Regions from separate parts of the Homo sapiens genome. Here all the other regions are linked to region 3. Evidence: promoter capture Hi-C in 16 types of primary human blood cells and fetal thymus (Javierre and others, 2016). All regions are on one chromosome and are shown on one strand. The core of a region is centred on a gene start or on the middle of the fragment in contact, and the rest is flanking DNA. Distances in the headings are between cores, read along the strand shown.

Region 1 (3,227 bases), core at 673-3,172, 320 kb before region 3:
TAGAGATGGGGTTTTGCCATGTTACCCAGGCTGGTCTCGAACTCCTGGCCTCAAGCAATCCACCCACCTCGGCCTCCCAAAGTGCTGGGATTACAGGCATGAGGCATTGCACCCGGCCTTCATGCTTGTCTGTTCTTTGGTAAGTATTGCTCTGTGGCTGTGTTGTTTGTCTTCAATAAGCTGCTTGGGAGCAGGGGTTGTGTTTGGGTCAATATTCTCCCTTCATCCCCATCAGTATCTAAGTTGCCCAGGCTCTTAGCATCCTAACTCCTTCCTCTGTGGTTGAGCAGAGACACTTGTCTCAGGCTCTGTTGAACACAGAGCCAGATGACTAACCTGCTTCCTTTGATCTCATCCTAGATCAGTGTGCGTGTGACCACCATGGATGCAGAGCTGGAGTTTGCCATCCAGCCCAACACCACCGGGAAGCAGCTATTTGACCAGGTAAGGCGGAGACTCCTTAGCCTCCTCTCCTTCTCTGAATAGCTTCCACCACAATGCCAACAATCCATGACTTTTGCCTCTTGTCAAAGAATCTCTCTTCCTGTTCACTCCAAGATAGATCAAAATGAAGGCTGATTCCAGACTTAATATGAAAGGAGGCAAAGTTAAACTTTGGCAGCCTGCACCCTATGGTCCTGATTAATTTTATCTTTGGTCCTGAATAAGGGAGAAAAGAAAATGGTGTATATTCTATGCTAGATGCTTTAAAAATCTTAGCATATGGAGCCTTCCTTTTAACTCTGAAACATGTAAGTGATGTCTTCTCCATTTTAATGATGAGGCTCAGAAGTTAAATAACTTAATTGCACCCAAATGATATTTGGCTGGGATTTGCACTCCACATTGTTGCCACTGCACCACACTGCCTCTGTCCCATGTTTTTGCTTCCTAGTAGAAGGAAACTAACTTACTCTCCCTGAGGTAGTAAGCTCTATGCACATTTCTCTCAAAAGAATGTTGGGACTTAGGACAACATGGGAGTTGATGGATGCAGTAGGAGGCTGCTTCATCTCCTACAGGCATGCCATGAAGATAATTGCTTACTCGCCATAGTGAAGAGGTCATTCCCATCTCCAACCCAAGGGGTGTCCCTTCATTGTGAATCATTATTGTCAGAAAGGATGTACTGTATACTATAATAAACAGATGGCAGCTACAGACATTTTTAGCATTCAAGGGAATGTGCCGTCTGTGGCCAGACTTCTAGGAGCAAAAATGAGGCTCCCATTTCCAGAGGCTGGGACCTCACCAGACAGGCCATTATCCTATTTCTCCACCAGACTCCGATGAAGTGGAGGTCTGAGTTATTGTCCAGGATGTTAGGCTGCATATCACCCTGATGGATTCTCCAGGCCCTCTTGCTTCCCTTTCTTCCTTGCTCTCTGTGTCCTTCTACCATATGAGAACTTCCCCAGGGTTGGAGAGAGGAAGAAAAAAAGAAGGAGGTAGTGTTCAAATAAGCTAATTCTATTCCTGTGAATACTTCTGACTGGTGAGAGAAAAGACAAGAGTAGAATGGAGACAGGGGTAGGAGAGGGCTAGAAATTTGAGGACAGCTTGGGTACACCTTCTGAGTTCTTATTACATAGAGTGGGAAAATTATTGTCTGTGGCTAATACAGATGAGAGTTAACATTTATCCAGGACTCAGTGTATGCTAAGTATTATGATAAGCATTTGACTATCACAAAGCTCTGTGAGTGCATGAATTAGTATGGGCATGTTTTACAGATGAGGACACAAAATCCTCATTTTCCTAGTTAGACCCTGGGAAAATTATTGAACTCTCTGGGTTGGTATCTTCATCCCCTCCCCCCGAGAAATATCTAATACTTACCTCACAGGATTTTTGTGAGTGTGTTATGTTTTGTATCTTACCTGTTACTCAAAAATCTGATTATAGTGGCATATAAGGATGTCCAATCCAAAAAGATAAATTCGAAATAGGTGAGAAAGATAAGAAAACACAAATAGGAAAGAAAGTGTTAGCTGGAAGAAAGCATCCAGCATATGGTAGAGAAGTAATAAATGATAGCTCCCTTTCCAATACCATTGTGCTTCTTGTATTATTAATTGAGCTGGAGTTGACGTGATGTGGTGGCTCATGTCTGTAATCCTAACACTGAGATGGGAGGATTGCTTGAGCCCAGGGGCTCGAGACCAGCCTGGGTAACACAGCGAGACCCTGTCTCTACAAAAAATTTAAAAATTAGCATGGCATGGTGGTGCACACCTATAGTCCCAGCTACTCAGGAGATTGTGCCAGGAGGGTTGCTCAAGCCCAGGAGTTCAAGGTTACAGTGAGCTATGATCACGCCACTGTACTCCAGCCTAGGTGACAGAGCAAGACTCTGTCTCTAAAAAAAAAAAAAAAAAGTAAAGAAAAATAATCTAGAATTGGGAGAATTGGGAGATGGGCTTAATGATCCTCAGAATATCTAACTTCAGATTTAGGTGGAACTTACTTCTCTGGAGTTTGTTTTGTGTTTGTTTTACTTTGAATGGCAAAGTGTAATCATTGATACTTAATTGGTGAAAATACAAATTAGTCTGAGGAATATTTAAATACAAGTTTACTACAATTAAAGTGATGTGCTTACATTCACATAGCTCACAAGTGATTATGGTGCTAGTCTGGAATGACTAAATGCATTCTAATTATAATTGTGCTTTGCATTCTCTCTTCACATGGAGGTTATATTGGAGAACTTTTAAAGGGACAGCCTAGTGAAGTCAAAAGGGCCTGGATAGAAAGTCATGAATCTTGGGCTGTAGGGTTGGCTCTATCACTAATTCGCTGTGATACAAACGTTTCCCTTATTTGGGCCTCAGTTTCTCATCTGTACAATGCCTAACTTGTTTCTCAAATCTGGTTATCTCTCAGAAAATTTATCTCTGGCATTTATTTGTGCATTCCATCTCTCTTTCTCTCCCATTTCTGTTCCTAGTATTGGGATTTCAGACAATCCTTTTCTGTAAAAAGGAGAGAAATGCCTCACCTGAGTATGATCAGCTGCTGGCATATGTGAGGAGGTAGGGCTAGCTGGCAGGGGGATCATCTCTTCCTTGACAGGCTTTTTACTGTCTCTAAGACAAAAGGGAGGAAGTGTCCATAGAACACATAGGCTTTTGGGCCCTTTGCTTTAGACAGCAGTATCATTCTGGGTAGCAGCTATTAGAGAGGGAAGCGGTTAGTCAGTGCAGATTTTACAGACCAGCTGGGAG
Region 2 (3,146 bases), core at 134-2,633, 280 kb before region 3:
TTTTTTCTAGAATGTCATATAGTTGGAATTGTATAGTACGTGACCTTTTTTGGTTGGTTTCTTTCACTTAGTAATATGCATTTAAGGTCCCTCCATGTTTTTTCATTGCTTGATAGCTCATTTCTTTTTGCCTCTGAATAATATTCTATTATGTGGTTGTACCACAGTTTATTTATTCATTTACCTATTGAAGGGATATCTTGGTTGCTTCTAAGTTTTGGCAATTATGAATAAAGCTGCTATAAACATCTGTGTACCTTTTTCTGCACAGACATAAGTTTTTACTCATTTGGCTAAATACCAAGAAGTATGATTCCTGAATTGTATGGTAAGAGTATGTTTAGTTTTGTAAAAAACTGCCAAACTTCTCCATGACTCTCCCATCAATGCCTTCCCCCAAGAGGTAGCAATTGATGACCTCTGTCATCATAGATTTGTTTTGCCTTTTTTGAACTTCATATAAAGGTTATATAAAGTTTATATACAGTAAGTTTGTATATAAACTTTGTATTAAAAGTTTATATACAGTAAGTTTGTATATAAACTTTATATTAAGTTTATATAATGTTTATATACAATATGTTAAACTATAAAGAGGTTATATAAAGTTTATATATAGTATGTTTGTATATAAACTTTGTATAAACTTTATATACAGTATGTCCTCTTTTGTGTTTGGCTTCTTTTCCTCAACATAATATCTGTGAGATTCATCCATGTTACAGTATGCCAAGTTGTATTCCAGTGACCTGGAATAGTCTCCTTTTGATGGACGTTTGGGCTGGCTCCAGTTTTTGCCTATTATGGATAAAGCTACTGGGAATATTCTGATATAGGTATTTTAATGGTCCTGTACACTCATTTTTTTGGGTCTATTTCTAGGAGTGGAATTTCTGAATTATTTAGGTAATTATTTTAGTTTTAACCGATACTGAGGGAGAAGGTTAGTATGGACCGAAGGAGAGAAGGTAGTTGTTACTCACATGCTTTTAAGTTGCTCAGAACTCACCCCAATAACATGTCTAAACTAAGTCACAATCCTACTGTATGAGGTCACTGACCTACCTTAAGGCTAGGTTGGGATTTGTTCAAGAATGGGACATGTACACCAGTGTTCATGGCAGCATTACTCACAATCCTTAAAAGGTGAAAACAACCCATGAGTTCATCAACAATCGAATAGATAAACAAAATGTGATACATACATATAATGGAATATTATTCAACCTTAAGAATGAATGAAGTTCTGAAACATGCTATAACATGGATGAGCCTTAAAAAACAGTAAGCAAGACACAAATGAAAATATTGTATGAGTCCTCTTATATGAAATATCTAGAATAGGTTAATTAATAGAGACAAAAAGTAGAAAAAAGGTTATCAGAGGATGGGGAATGTGGATGGAGAGTTATTGCTTACTGATTAGAATTTCTGTTTGAGATCATGAAAAAGTTCTGGAAATAGAGTGGTGATGATTACACAACATTGTGAATGCACTTAAAGTCACTGAATTGTACATTCAAAATGGTAAATTTTATGCTATGTATAATTTACCACAATAAAAAACATGCTTTGTTAAAAAAAGAATTGTCCATGGTGGTTTAGTGGTTAGGATAATTTCAAAAGAATGAGACAGCAGGTTGGGAAGGTGGATGGGCATCGGTGACTCAAAAAGAAAGGTAGCAGAAGCTGACACCAAGCATACATGAAACAGACCCAAAGGCCTAGAATCCTCAAAGTTATCCAGTCAGTCCCCACCCCCAACAATCTCTAATACTACTTTATTATCTACAGACAATGTCAGAACCCTTATGTGTTCAATGCTTCTGAATTGAAGCTCTTATTTGGGGTGAAAACTACGTGGCCTAAGTGCTTTCTGTTGTCTGGCATAAGATCAGGCAGCATCCAGGTGATTCCACTGTTACCCTGTCCCTGGGGGCACAGTGGCACTTTCGCCTTTTCATTGATGCCCAACAACGCAGATATAAAAATTGGAACAGATGGTGAGGGGGCTTCAAATTTGTTGGCTGGCTCTCAACTCAGGGAAAGCAGCACAGGGAAAGATCTGCTCAACAAAACAAAATGTGATCCCCAGCAGGTCTAAACAAATAAGTGTTCAAAATGTATTTAGTGGCACTGAGCCACCAAAGAAGAGAAGGGACGTCTGACAGCATAGGAGCAGGAAGATACATACTAAATCAAATTATCATTATTATTATGAAGCAAGCCACCAACAAGCTGGAGAATTTGGGGCTCATGCATTTCTTTTATTACTTTTTGTTAGGCAGATTGGCTGGAAAAATGATTTCTCTGGGTAGAATGGGACTACTATGGACTCTTTTTTTATTGTACTTTAAGTTCTAAGATATAGGTGCAGAAGGTGCAGGTTTGTTACATAGGTATGCACTTGCCATGGTGGTTTGCTGCACCCATCAACCTGTCATCTACATTAGGTATTTCTCCTAGTGCTATCCCTCCCCTAGCCCCCCACCTCCTGACAGGCCCCAGTGTGTGATATTCCCATCCCTGTGTCCATGTGTTCTCATTGTTCAACTCCCACTTATAAGTGAGAACATGTGGTGTTTGCTTTTCTGTTCCTGTGTTAGTTTGCTGAGAATGATGGTTTCCAGCTTCATCCATGTCCCTGCAAACAGCAAGAACTCATCCTTTTTTATGGCTGCATAGTATTCCATAGTGTATATGTGCCACATTTTCTTTATCCAGTCTGTCATTGATGGGCATTTGGGTTGGTTCCAAGTCTTTGCTATTGTGAATAGTGCTGCAATAAACATACGTGTGCATATGTCTTTATAGTAAAATGATTTATAATCCTTTGGGTATATGTCCAGTAATGGGATTGCTGGGTCAAATGGTATTTCTGGTTCTAGATCTTTGAGGAATCACCACACTGTCTTCCACAATGGTTGAAATAATTTACACTCCCACCAACAGTGTAAAAGCATTCCTATTTCTCCACATCCTCTCTAGCATCTGTGGTTTCCTGACTTTTTAATAATTGCCATTCTAACTGGTGTGAGATGGTATCTCATTGTGGTTTTGATTTGCATTTCACTAATGACCAGTGATGATGAGCCTTTTTTCATATGTTTCTTGGCTGCACAAATGTCTTCTTTTGAGAAGTGTCT
Region 3 (3,227 bases), core at 682-3,181:
TTTGATTATCTTGACATATCTCTTAGCCCCACAGGAAGAGGCTAGCAGCTTACTCTGGCCGCTACAGGGTTTTTAGCAGTGAAGCTGCAGTCCCACAGAGTTGTCCAGCTGAGAAACCCCTTTAAGACCAGTCAAGTCAACCTCCTCACTGTACAGATGGGCTAGGAACAATGAGGTCCAGGGAGAGGGAAGGTATTATTTGCAGCTCAGCATAACCTGAGCCTGAGGTCTATAGTATAAGATCCTGTGTACAAATGGAAGGCCTGCTTCCAGGTCTGGAAAAGCTCATAGGCTGGGGAAGGAACAAGACACATGAGTGCTCTCTCTCTCTCTCACACACACACACACACACACACACATGAATGCACACACACATACACACACACAAACAAAGGATTTAAATTTAACATTTCTAAAATGCTCCCTCAAGCCCCAGGCTTAAGCCCTAGCTCAAACCAACAGACTTGGAGAAGGTAGAGAGATACATTATAAAACCTGCTAGAGAATGGAAATGTGGTAGTTATAGAAAGAAAAATGTTTTTTCAGGAGCATTAACTCTGCCACTAATGCTCTTTGGCTTGGGGGCAAATTATTTTTTCTCTTGGTTGACTTAATTCAGAGTCTTTTCTAACTCTGAGGTTCCAGAGTGTGATGGGTCACAGAGCCCCAGGATAGGGTAACCTAATCAGAGTCAGCTACGGAAAGCTGGATTCTTTCTGACCTAACAAGTGACACCAAGCTAACACCTATCCAGCCTTTTTCTCTAGGGATGATAGGGAAGCAGCAAAATCCCCCTTTACCCTATATTGGATCTCACTTAGCTGTTACCCAGGTTGAGTTTCCTGAAAATCCATCTCACTTCTCAGGAGTGTAGATGAGGATAGAGCTTCCCAAGCTCCAAGGAAATAATGCCACTATGGAATAGTCCATCCTCCTTTGGGATTTGTATCCAGCCCATAAATAGCCCAGACAAATTGAGCCATGTCTATAGGGAAGTGAGTTATCCCAGGAATGGGTAAGAAACCAAGTCCTATGAAGACCAGTTGAAAAAGCTGGGGCTGTTCAGCTTGGAGGAGAGAAGAGTCAAGGAGACATAGTACTTGTCCTCAGGGCTTTGAAGGGCTATCACAGGGCAAGGAAGCATCTATGTTCTGTGTAGCCCCAAGAAGCAAAGCTGGGGTTTTTGGATGGAAGTCAGAGGGAACTGGATTTAGTTCAACACAAATAAGAACTTTCTAACAGTTGGAGCTGCTCCTGGATGGACTAGATGGTCTGGGGAGGTAGTGAACAGTGAAATCTCAATCACTACTGGATGTTTCTGAGCACTTATTCATGACAATGAAGGGTGGTATAGGTTACTTCTATAGTCCTATCCAACTCTTAGAAAACACTCCTTCTTCGGGGGCTGTATATTTTAACAGAGACCAAAGCTTGGAAGCAGAGTGGTTAAGTCCAATTGTAGAATTTTAGATGAGAGACAGCAGATGGAGGAAAGATTCGGATGTCATTGGGAACCTTCTTGATGCCCCTGAGATACAAGCCCTAGAAAATAATGCAGATGTTTTCCAAGAGAAAAATCCTTTTTCAATTTCTGCCCAAACTTGCCTTCTGGCTTCTTCAGCAGCCTTCAACTACATCCATCCGTTTTGCTCAAGGCTGAGAGAGCCTGCAGAGTTTGGCTGAGAAGACTCACCTGCCCAGTAGGAATAGGCTTTCCATAGTAGACATTAAACACCAACCCTCTAGCCTTTTGCCTAAGCCAGCAATGGCAGCCAGGCCCCCCTTTCTGCCTTACCATAAGTGTCCACTGTTAGGTGCCCCAGGAGTAGCAGGCCCAGTAAGATCCCCATCACAGCCAGAGCTACTTCTGTCCTTTCTTCCAGCCTCCTGCTACCAAAGAGGCTCAAACTTCTGGTGGCCGCCAGCGTCTGTGACTGCTTACTTCCCTTCCTTCCCTATATCTCTCACTCAAACTCCTAGTCCCATCACACATTCCCCTTCCTTCCCTATTTCAGTACAGGTCATGTGGGGTGCCCCCCTTCCCCCACCTCCTTGGGGTTGGAGGTTCCAGGATGAGTGAAGCAATTCTTCCCCCTGCTAGGGTATTGACTTGACTTTCCTTGGAGCCAATGGGGCTTTCTGGTCTTTGATCTCCTAGGCTGTATTTATTTTGAGTCTCCTCCACAAGATTCAGAGGTTGTGGGGGCGACCTTTGGGATGAGTCTTCCCACTCCAGTATGGCGGTGTTTTCCTTTGTGGTGAGCCCAGGGAGAAGAGATCAACTTTGCTGACCTACCCAATTTTCATTAGTTGTACTGTTAACCCTTGCCTGTGCAGCCTATGCAACTGGACAGGGTGTTGGGCCCGGGGTGCTTTTGGGCTTAAGAGTACAAGAGTTTAGTGTATTAAAGGGCTTTCTACACATCAAAGCTTGAATAATTGACAAGCCAATGGATAAGGCTGTTATGGGTGAATATGCCTCATATCTCATATTGGGGAAGCTCTTTGAATCACTTTCTACAATGGCTCCACCTCTCTGATGGTAAGGGAGAATTCATTTTCATTAATGTTCTCCATGCTTTTTCATAAGGAATTTATTTTTTACTTCTTTTAAGGGAAATTTAAGCCTAGCCTCCAGTGCAGCAGCCCATTAGTGGTATGCTGTATTAGGTTGAATTTTTCATTGACTTCCAATTGGTACAGGCCCTTGACCTACAAGAGAGTAATATTATGCCTCCTAGCAAAGCTCAACTGCTCCAGAAATTGCTCCTCTTCACAGGCCCCAGAGTGACTGTAATTTCATCAGCAGTCTAACTAGGTTTGGCACTGCGCTTTGTCTACTAAGCTTTGAAACAATAAGCACTTTCAAAAGCACAAATACATCCCAAAAATTCATACTGCACTGTAAGTAACAGCTAAGCTTAGTTTACTCTTTGATTGGAGGGATAGGAAAGGACTTGGTCAGGGGAGGGAGGAGTTTGTGCAGAGATGGGGAGTGGGAATATAAAGAAACATACTTGCCAAGGGGTGGCTGCATGCAGATGATTTGGAGCTGTGCACGGGCTAAGGAGACATTCCAGCATTTCAGGACACATTATTACATGGAATTCTATCAATCACCTCTGCCTCTAGGGCCCAATCCCCCTTGGCTGGTTGTTCCTTGTTTTTTGAGTACTGCACTCATTCCATCTCACTGGAAATTTCAGCCATTTTTTCCCACCGGGTCC

The links. Contacts are between HindIII fragments. The CHiCAGO score rates a contact against its expected background, and 5 or more counts as called.
Region 1: a contact is called between a fragment that was not itself captured here and the fragment with the promoter of VSIG4 in region 3, in 10 of 17 cell types (activated CD4 T cells, M0 macrophages, non-activated CD4 T cells and 7 more). The highest score is 8.0, in activated CD4 T cells.
Region 2: a fragment that was not itself captured here is called in contact with the fragment with the promoter of VSIG4 in region 3 in 6 of 17 cell types (neutrophils, M0 macrophages, naive B cells and 3 more); the score reaches 11.0 in neutrophils.

The regions. Positions count from the first base shown.
Region 1 is chrX:65,716,458-65,719,684 of GRCh38, forward strand. MSN (moesin) reads left to right here. Exons shown (of 13, transcript NM_002444.3): 2 at 361-444. Among named protein-coding and RNA genes, the nearest start is that of MSN, 50 kb to the left of the region's middle. The HindIII fragment of the contact is 4,651 bases long and covers 1-3,227 here.
Region 2 is chrX:65,757,079-65,760,224 of GRCh38, forward strand. No RefSeq gene overlaps it. Among named protein-coding and RNA genes, the nearest start is that of MSN, 91 kb to the left of the region's middle. The HindIII fragment of the contact is 6,653 bases long and covers 1-3,146 here.
Region 3 is chrX:66,038,149-66,041,375 of GRCh38, forward strand. VSIG4 (V-set and immunoglobulin domain containing 4) reads right to left here and starts at 1,932. Exons shown (of 8, transcript NM_007268.3): 1 at 1,796-1,932. The coding sequence starts at 1,850. The HindIII fragment of the contact is 1,000 bases long and covers 1,429-2,428 here.